2 separate regions of the Homo sapiens genome follow, and region 2 is linked to region 1. Evidence: promoter capture Hi-C in 16 types of primary human blood cells and fetal thymus (Javierre and others, 2016). All regions are on one chromosome and are shown on one strand. The core of a region is centred on a gene start or on the middle of the fragment in contact, and the rest is flanking DNA. Distances in the headings are between cores, read along the strand shown. Region 1 holds the start of ECM1 (extracellular matrix protein 1). Region 2 has its middle 11 kb from the start of ENSA.

Region 1 (4,499 bases), core at 1,998-4,497:
AGCCAGAGTGACTAATTTGCCATCACCTGTTCTTTCCCTACCAGGCCACTGTGGCTGTCCCCGTTCCAGGTGGTGGTCATCCCTGTGGGGAGTGAGCAAGAGGAATACGCCAAAGAGGTAAGGAGTTGAGGTAAGGGAGGGGGCAGAAGCAGGTCCAGTAGAGAGTCTGGTGCCCTGCAGTGGGCAGGAAGAGGCTGCAGGGGTGGTAGAGGAAGGAGCACAGCCCTCACAGCCACAAGACTGGGCTCGAGTGGCTGCTGTCCTAGATGCTGGAAATCCTGTATCTAAAAAATGTGACTAATGCCTACCTTGTAGAGATGTATGAAAATTAAACAAATTAACAAATGTTGAAAGCCACCAAAAGAGCACTTGGCACAAAACTGGGATTGAGTACACAGTTTTATTTTTCCTTTCTAGAGAGAATTGAGGATATGGATGGTACCAGAGTCAAACAGCTGGTTGGGTAGAGCAGTGGCTAGAAGGCAAAGTCCACGGAATAACTGGGGGGTCATCTCCAGTAGGAGGCAGAAAGATTGTGGGGTTGGGGATGAATGGGGAGGAGGCCTCAATGTGGAGATGAAATGAGGAGAGGTTGCTGGTAAGAAGTGGAGAGCCCCGAGGCAGGGAAAGGAGGAACAGATGGGGGCATTGAGGGAAAAGAGCATCAGACTGTTCTAGCTCCTTAACTTTCCAGTAAATTAACTTCCTGTCACCAAACCTCTGTTGCAGGCACAGCAGAGCCTGCGGGCTGCAGGACTGGTCAGTGACCTGGATGCAGACTCTGGACTGACCCTCAGCCGGAGAATCCGCCGGGCCCAGCTTGCCCACTACAATTTTCAGTTTGGTAAGCTGAACCTCAGAGCCAATGTTCTCCCACCTGCCGTCTGCATTCTTGCTGTTAAGTTTACCAAGTCTGGTAATGCATATTTGGGTTAATTGGGGCTCATTACCTGAGCAGGTAGGAGCCAGGATTCAGGACACCTGACTCATTTGGGCCCTGTGTTCCTTCACATTGCCCTGCCCTCCCCATAACCACTTCTGACACTCAAAATAGTTTTCCTCTTTTTAACTCCACTCTAGCTGTTGGTGTCTGTTAGGTTAATTAACCAAGGGAGCATCAGAGAGAAAGGGACGGGAGGGTTAATACAGCGTTAATTACCCTTGTTTATTTTAGACCTAGATGGAATCAGCCCTAAGGGATGAGGAGAAAGGCCTTAGGGAGAAAATTCTGGCACTGCCATGCTCCCTTTTTCATTTTCCAGGGTTCAGGGCTCTATCTCAAAGGTGAGGAGCAGAAACTCCTCAGCCAGATTACCTGATTCTTGAGTTTTGCACACCCCACTCTCCCTACAAGCACCCAGAGCAAGCTGTGCTGCAATCCCAGGGACTTGTACATGGCCCCTTTCCCTCCCTTACCGCCCAGTCAGCCCCTGCATACATCCTCCTCAGCAGAGGCCCCTCACTCTGTGAATCCAGCCCTAACAGACACCAAGAGCCAGAGTGGGACTGATGAGAGGAAACTGTTCTAAGGGTCAGAGTGGTTGGGGGGAGGCGGGGCAGTGTGAAGGCCACACCACTCCTGCCACCTTCCACTTGCTCTAATACCCCCTTCAGACACGCGCGCGCACACACACACACACACACACACACACACAGTTTCTCTCTGTGGGGTTCTCATTGTTTGTCTTTCTCTGCTTGACTCTAATGTCTCTGACACACACACACACACACACACACACACACACAGTTTCTCTCTGTGGGGTTCTCAGTGTTTGTCTTTCTCTGCTTGACTCTTATGTCTCTGACCCTGGGGCTCTTGACCAGAAGCGATAAGGCCTGCGGGGACTGAAGCACTTCCTTGTCTCCTCAGGATGAGCAGGACTGGTCATTTAGTATTAGCAGACACAGCTGAATACTTCCTTTCTGTGAACCATATCTGGGCTCTGCTCCCACCCTTCCTAAAGATTTAGGTCTCTCAAGTTTCTGCAGAGCAAAAGAAACTGTTCCATGTGGGTGAATTTGCCCTGAGGTTCCCAAACTTCCTCTACCTGCAGTGGTTGGCCAGAAAGAGCAAAGTAAGAGAACAGTGAACATTCGGACTCGAGATAATCGTCGCCTTGGGGAGTGGGACTTGCCTGAGGCTGTGCAGCGACTGGTGGAGCTACAGAACACGAGGGTCCCAAATGCCGAAGAAATTTTCTGAGCCTTTGTACATAGATGAGGCAAAAACCTGCGAGTGCCATCAGCCTCCCTCACATGGGAGACCCCAACCCAGCTGACAATGTGGAGCCCCCAGAACTTCAGAACTGTGTGGAGGCACATGTCTGCTCTCCTGAAAAGAGACTTGGTTTGGGGACCCCACAAAAGGAGGGAAGCTGTAGCTGTTTGGATGTGAGGAGAATGAAACTACAAAAAAAAATAAATTGGGCCAGGCGCAGTGGCTCATGCCTGTAATCCCAGCACTCTGGGAGGCTGAGGCGGACGGATCATGAGGTCAGGAGATCAAGACCACCCTGGCTAACACGGTGAAACCCTGTCTCTACTAAAAATACAAAAAATTAGCCGGGCATGGTGGCACACGCCTGTAATCCCAGCTACTCAGGAGGCTGAGGCAGGAGAATCGCTTGAACCCGGGAGGTAGAGGTTGCAGTGAGCTGAGATTGCGCCACTGCACCCCCCTAGGCGACAGAGCGAGACTCTGTCTCTAAATAAATAAATAAATAAATAAATACAAACTGGAAGCTGCTGGTCATATGTCTTCATCTCTGACTCTGGAGAGGTGGGATAAAAGGATGTTCCACTTTGTCTCCCTCTTTTTTGTCCCAGAGAGTTAGGGAAATTGAAAAGGGACAGTCCAGACCTCACACTGGTAGGGGAGATCCCTTGGATAGGTTTCCTGCTCCCCGCTGTAAACTCCTTTGTGCCCTGTTTCCCCAACCCCAGTTCATGAGTTGGCAGATCCCCTCTCCACAGAAGGCAGCCTGTAGATGGAGAAACTGAGGCACAAACTAGGGGCTCAAACACCTCTTGCTCCTGGATTCTCTGAATCAGTTTCTCTTGAAGGTCATAAGAATGTTCTCCTCTAATCAGTCCCATTCTTCTCAATCCTCTGAGGAGGCTTCAGGGTGACTTTGGGAGGAGTGGCTTCCAGAGGAGGAGCAGCTGGGACTGAGTCATGGCAGGAAGCTGAGGAGGGCGGGAGATCACACCAGACAATTATAAAAGAAGAGCTGGTCCTGAAGCTCACAACCGTAACAGCCACCAGACAAGCTTCAGTGGCCGGCCCTTCACATCCAGACTTGCCTGAGAGGACCCACCTCTGAGTGTCCAGTGGTCAGTTGCCCCAGGATGGGGACCACAGCCAGAGCAGCCTTGGTCTTGACCTATTTGGCTGTTGCTTCTGCTGCCTCTGAGGGAGGTGAGTTGGGGGATCAGCACTTAGGAGGGGGTCTGGGCTTGCATGGCAGGGGTCTGGGTCCAGGCATCCCAGACGGCTCATCACTAGCAGAGTGATTCTCCGTTTGGCTTTCCTTTTCTGAGCAGGCCCAAAGTGGGCCTAGGCCAGTGGAGCCTTTAACCAAGGAGGCAGAGAGCAGGGGCACAGAAGGAGAGGGGTTCCTAGAAACTGCTGCCAAGAAACACAGAATCCCAGTCAAATAGACAACTGAGTGGGGGGTGGGTTCACAGAGTGAGGGTCTCCTGCTGATGAGGATGTAGGGAGGTGGCTGGTGGGAGAGGCAAGGGAGGGAAAAGGGGCCCCCAGGCTGCTCAAAACCGGATTGCTGGCCCAGCAAGCCTCGACTGACTCCCTGTCTGATTAGAGGAGTTGAGGGGTGTCCATCCACAGACCCACCCTCCATCCAGCACAAACACATTCTTTATCTGCTTTGATGCCTGAACAAAACAGGAACCCCTCAATGCTATGGGTGGAAACTAAGAAAAAAAGGAAAAGAAAAGGAAAAAAACCACCCAGGGCACTCCTGCAGGAAGCTGCTGAGGATGTCAGCAAATCTGTCCACTTCTCTGTGAAGCCCCATGCCATCATTCTTCCCAGCTCCTGGTCTTTTGTGTCTGCAGATCACCTACAAGTGACCCTTCCCTGTGCCTGTCCCAGTCCCCCAGGCCCTAAATTGAGACCTAAACTAAGGCGGAGCTGAGACTGGCTGAAGGGGAAGCACTCAACCTTCAGGAAGCCTCCTTAACCAAAGGCCTAAAGATGTTTCAAGGGCCTGGAGTAGGAGGGTGGGTGGAGGAGGTGGATTGGGTAGGCTCCAACCAGCTCAAGGTCCAGACTTTTTCCTCTGAAAGCTAGAGACGCATCCCAGCAGAGACTGGGGAGGACAACCCACAGCCCTGAGGGAAAGACTGGCAGAGGAAATGAGGGCCTCCCTCCCCAATCCCGTATGCCATACTCCCTTTAGGCCCAACCTCTGAGCCAGTAGAGGTGGAGCTATCAGACCGCCACAGGCTTTCTCAGAACCCAGCTGGTCATGTCTAGG
Region 2 (4,850 bases), core at 374-2,873, 130 kb after region 1:
AAAGTAAGATCTAGTATTTGCTATCACAACAGGGTGACTATAGTAAAAAATAATTGTTCATTAAAAAATAACTAAAAGAGAGGCCAGGTGCGGTGGCTCATGCCTGTAATCCCAACACTTTGGGAGGCCGAGATGGGTGGATTGCCTAAGGTCAGGAGTTCGAGACCAGCCTGACAAACACGGTGAAACCCTGTCTCTATTAAAAATACAAAAACTAGCCAGGCATGGTGGCAGGTGCCTGTAATCCTAGCTACTCGGGATGCTGAGTGTGGAGAATCGCTTGAACCTGGGAGGCAGAGGTTGCAGTAAGCCAAGGTTGCGTCATTGCACTCCAGCCTGAGCAACAAGAGTGAAACTCCATCTCAAACAAACAAGCAAACTAAGAGTATAATTGGATTGTTGGAAACATAAAGGATAGATGTTTGAGGTGATGAATACTGTATTTACTCTGATGTAATTATTACACATTGCATGCCTATATCAAACATCTCATGTAACCCATAAATATATACACCCACTATGTATCCACAAAAATTAAAAAAGAGCCCGGGCATGGTGGCTCACATCTGTAATCCCAGCACTTTGGGAGGCCAAGGCGGGCGGATCACCTGGGGTCGGGAGTTCGAGACCAGCCCGACCAACACGGAGAAACCCTGTCTCTACTAAAAAATACAAAATTAGCCGGGCGTGGTGGCGCATGCCTCTAATCCCAGCTACCCGGGAGGCTGAGGCAGGAGAATCACTGGAACCTGGGAGGCGGAGGTTGTGGTGAGCTGAGATCGTGCCATGGCACTCCAGCCTGGGCAATAAGAGCAAAACTCCGTCTCAAAAAAAAAAAAAAATTAAAAAAGAAATGCATTCTTATGTTATACCAAAACACATATTCATAGTAGTTCTATTTATAGTTGCCCCAAACTAGGTCAATCAAATCTTCAAAAAAAGTAAAATAGTTAATTCATGGTCACAAAACATACATATTTCATAATTTCATTTGTATAAACCTCAAAAGCAAAACCAATCTATGGTATTTCAAGTCAAGATTGTGGTTACCTTTAAGGGAGAAAATAGCAACTGGGAAAAGGTATGAGGGGGGATTCTAGGGTGCTGGTAACGATCTGTTTCTTGATTTGGGTGCTGGCTATATATGTTCACTATTCATTTTTTAAAAATAGACACAGAGTCTCACTATGTTGCCCAGGCTGGTCTTAAACTCTTGGCCTCAAGCAGTCCTCCCACCTCGGCCTCCCAAAGTGCTTGGATTACGGGAGTGAGCCACCATTCCCAGCTAGCCACCTCATTTAAAATAGTATTACTTGGCCGGGTGCAGTGGCTGACGCCTGTAATTCCAGCACTTTGGGAGGCCGAGGCGGGTTGGGATCAAGCCAGCCTGGCGAACATGGTGAAACCTCAACTCTCCTAAAATTACAAAATTAGTAATCGAGACCATTCTGGGTAACATGGTGAAATCCCATCTCTACTAAAAATACAAAAAATTAGCTGGGCATGGTGGCGGGCGCCTGTAGTCCCAGCTACTCGGGAGGCTGAGGCAGGAGAATGGCGTGAACCCAGGAGGCGGAGCTTGCAGTGAGCTGAGATGGCGCCACTGCACTCCAGCCTGGGTGACAGAGTGAGACTCCGTCTCAAAAACAAAAAACAAAAAACAAAACAAACAAACAAAAAACAAAAAAAATTAGGCTGGGCGCAGTGGCTCATGCCTGTAATCCCAGCACTTTGGGAGGCTGATGTGGGCGGATCACCTGAGGTCAGGAGTTCAAGACCAGCCTTACCAACATGGAGAAACCCCGTCTCTACTAAAAATACAAAAAAAATTAGCCAGGCATGGTGGCATATGCCTGTAATCCCAGCTGTCAGGCCTCTGAGCCCAAACCAAGCCATCGCATCCCCTGTGACTTGCACGTATACACCCAGATGGCCTGAAGTAACTGAAGATCCACAAAAGAAGTAAAAATAGCCTTAACTGATGACATTCCACCATTGATTTGTTCCTGTCCCACCCTAACTGATCAATGTACTTTGTAATCTCCCCCACCCTTAAGAAAGTTCTTTGTAATTCTCCCCACCCTTGAGAATGTACTTTGTGAGATCCACCCCTGCCCGCAAAACATTGCTCTCAACTTCACCGCCTATCCCAAAACCTATAAGAATTAATGATAATCCATCTCCCTTCGCTGACTCTCTTTTCGGCACCCAGGTGAAATAAATACCCATGTTGCTCACACAAAGCCTGTTTGGTGGCCTCTTCACACGGACGCACATGAAACCAGCTACTTGGGAGGCTGAGGCAGGAGAATTGCTTGAACCCGGGAGGCGGAGGTTGCGGTGACCCGAGATCACGCCATTGCACTCCTGCCTGGGCAACAAGAGCAAAATTCCGTCTCAGGGAAAAAAAAAAAATTAGCTGGGTGTGGTGGGGCAGGCCTGTAATCCCAGCTACTCAGGAGGCTGAGGCAGGAGAATCACTTGAACCTGGGAGGCGGAGGTTGCAGAGTCGAGATCATGCCATTGCCCTCCAGCCTGGGCGACTGAGTGAGACTCCATCTTAAAAAAAAAAAAAAAAAAAGTCTTTTATTACTTTTTGAGCATTTAAAGAGTATTTTTTGGCCAGACGGTGTGGCTCACGCCTGTAATCCCAGTATTTTGGGAGGCCCAGGCGGGTGGATCACTTGAAGCCTCCAGCCTGGCCAACATGGCAGGAGAATGACTGGAACCCGGGAGGTGGATGTTGCAGTGAGCCAAGATGGTGTCACTGCACTCCAGCCTGGGTGACAGAGAGAGACTCTGTCTCAAAGACAAAAAGAAAATTTGTTCAGTATTTTCTTCAATCAGCTTTCTCAGACTGAATGTTCACCCTTTTAAATATTCATAATGTTCCTGAGAATCCATTTGGCTATTCTGTTTTCTTCACCCTTCTCCAGCCTTCCCCTCCTCAATTCGACCCATTTCTTCCCTACTTCCCAAAAGAAAAAATATCTACTTTGGATTAATATAAATCAGTTTAATCTAACTTATTCAAGACTTTTTTGGCCTCTACTTGGAGGTTCAAGAAAAGGTGTGTCAGGCCTCTGAGCCCAAGCTAAGCCATCATATCCCCTGTGACCTGCACATACACATCCAGATGGCCGGTTCCTGCCTTAACTGATGACATTCCACCACAAAAGAAGTGAAAATGGCCTGTTCCTGCCTTAACTGATGACATTGTCTTGTGAAATTCCTTTTCCTGGCTCATCCTGTCTCAAAAAGCTCCCCTACTGAGCACCCTGTGACCCCCACTCTGTCCGCCAGAGAACAACACCCCTTTGACTGTAATTTTCCTTTATCTACCCAAATCCTATAAAACAGCCGCACCCTTATCTTCCTTCGCTGACTCTCTTTTTGGACTCAGCCCGCCTGCACCCAGGTGAAATAAACAGCCATGTTGCTCACACAAAGCCTGTTTGGTGGTCTCTTCACACGCACGAGCATGAAAGTGAGGTGATACAACGAGGGGGAAAAGAATTATTATTATTATTATTAAGGCTAACCTACAAATATTTTGAGGTATTTTATGGGTTTAAATATCCATAAATCTTTGAAGAAGTCTCACTTTCAGATAAGGAGGAAACATTTCAGTATCTCTGAAATACAAGAAAAACTTAGGATTAAAATTTTTCTCATTAAATCAGGAAAATGATGTACATTTATTGGACTGATTTTTTTCTTGTGGCAGAAACATGGATTCAGTCAAGAAGCCCTTCTGAAGGAGTAGAAGGCCCTAGATTCCCAGGTAAGCTTCTGAAGGAAATTCAGTTAAATCTACTATCATACTTTGGGAGGTTGAATTAGATTAAGAAAAACAAAGCGGTAGCCAGATTATTTATATTCTGGGAAAAAATTCTACACAAAAGAGCTCTTAGAGAATATTTAGTTTTTCCCCTCTGGTTCAATTTACTTTTTTACAATTTGGAATGCAAAGGAAAACTGACACGGTAAGTGAGCTGGGCTGCTAGAAAACGGAGATTTCTGCCAGGAAGTGACTCTCGCTTTGACTTGCATTCGATAAAATTTTACTGCTTTCTGGGAGAGATGGCTCCCTCAATTATCAATAAAAAGTCACTTTTCAGCTGAGCACGGTGGCTCATGCCTATAATCCTAGCACTTTGGGAGGCTGAGACAGGAGGATCCCTTGAGCCCAGGAGTTTGAGACCAGGCTGGGCAACACAGGGAGACCCCCCTGCCTCTACAAAACAACAAAAAAAGCATGTTTGGTTTGTCTCTTTCCAAATTACCTAGACAACTTGGAACTCAGCAGAAAAATAAGACAGACCAAGGCTTTGAGAATAATTGCAGACACAGAAACAAAGAGTACATACACACATGTAACAGATAATAGAAAAATATCAAAAAAGCAGTGTTACCTAACATTTCAGCATTAAAGTGATTATTTTTATTCTTTAGGGAGAGTAAAACACATTTTAAGAAACCATATGAATATACACTTATGGGCATTTTAGCTGTGTGGCAAAAAGGAAGAACAAATTTTATCTGTTAGAATCTAAATTAAATTTCAGTTTTGTTGTAATTTAATGTCAGAAAGCATGCATGCATACATGTAAGACAGTGGAATATATAAAGTGTTGAAAGACAAAAACAACCCACCAACCTAGAATTATTTCTGTTGTTGTTGTTGTAGAACTGGGGCTCTGGCTATGTTGCCCAGGCTGGTCATAAACTCCTGGCCTCAAGTGATCCTCCTGCCTCGGCCTCCCAAAGTGCTGGGATTACAGGTGAGCTATTGTACCCAGCCCAACATAGAATTCTATTTCCAGTTAAATTATCCTTCCAAAATGAAG

The links. Contacts are between HindIII fragments. The CHiCAGO score rates a contact against its expected background, and 5 or more counts as called.
Region 2: a fragment that was not itself captured here is called in contact with the fragment with the promoter of ECM1 in region 1 in 1 of 17 cell types (neutrophils); the score reaches 7.5 in neutrophils.

What each region holds. Positions count from the first base shown.
Region 1 is chr1:150,504,862-150,509,360 of GRCh38, forward strand. It overlaps ECM1 (extracellular matrix protein 1), which reads left to right and starts at 3,248. Exons shown (of 10, transcript NM_004425.4): 1 at 3,248-3,418. The coding sequence starts at 3,349. It overlaps TARS2 (threonyl-tRNA synthetase 2, mitochondrial), which reads left to right. Exons shown (of 18, transcript NM_025150.5): 16 at 45-117; 17 at 730-844; 18 at 2,055-2,741. The coding sequence ends at 2,203. The HindIII fragment of the contact is 8,833 bases long and covers 1-3,268 here.
Region 2 is chr1:150,638,303-150,643,152 of GRCh38, forward strand. No RefSeq gene overlaps it. Among named protein-coding and RNA genes, the nearest start is that of ENSA, 11 kb to the left of the region's middle. RefSeq lists enhancers at 1-350, 2,815-3,430. The HindIII fragment of the contact is 4,327 bases long and covers 1-3,787 here.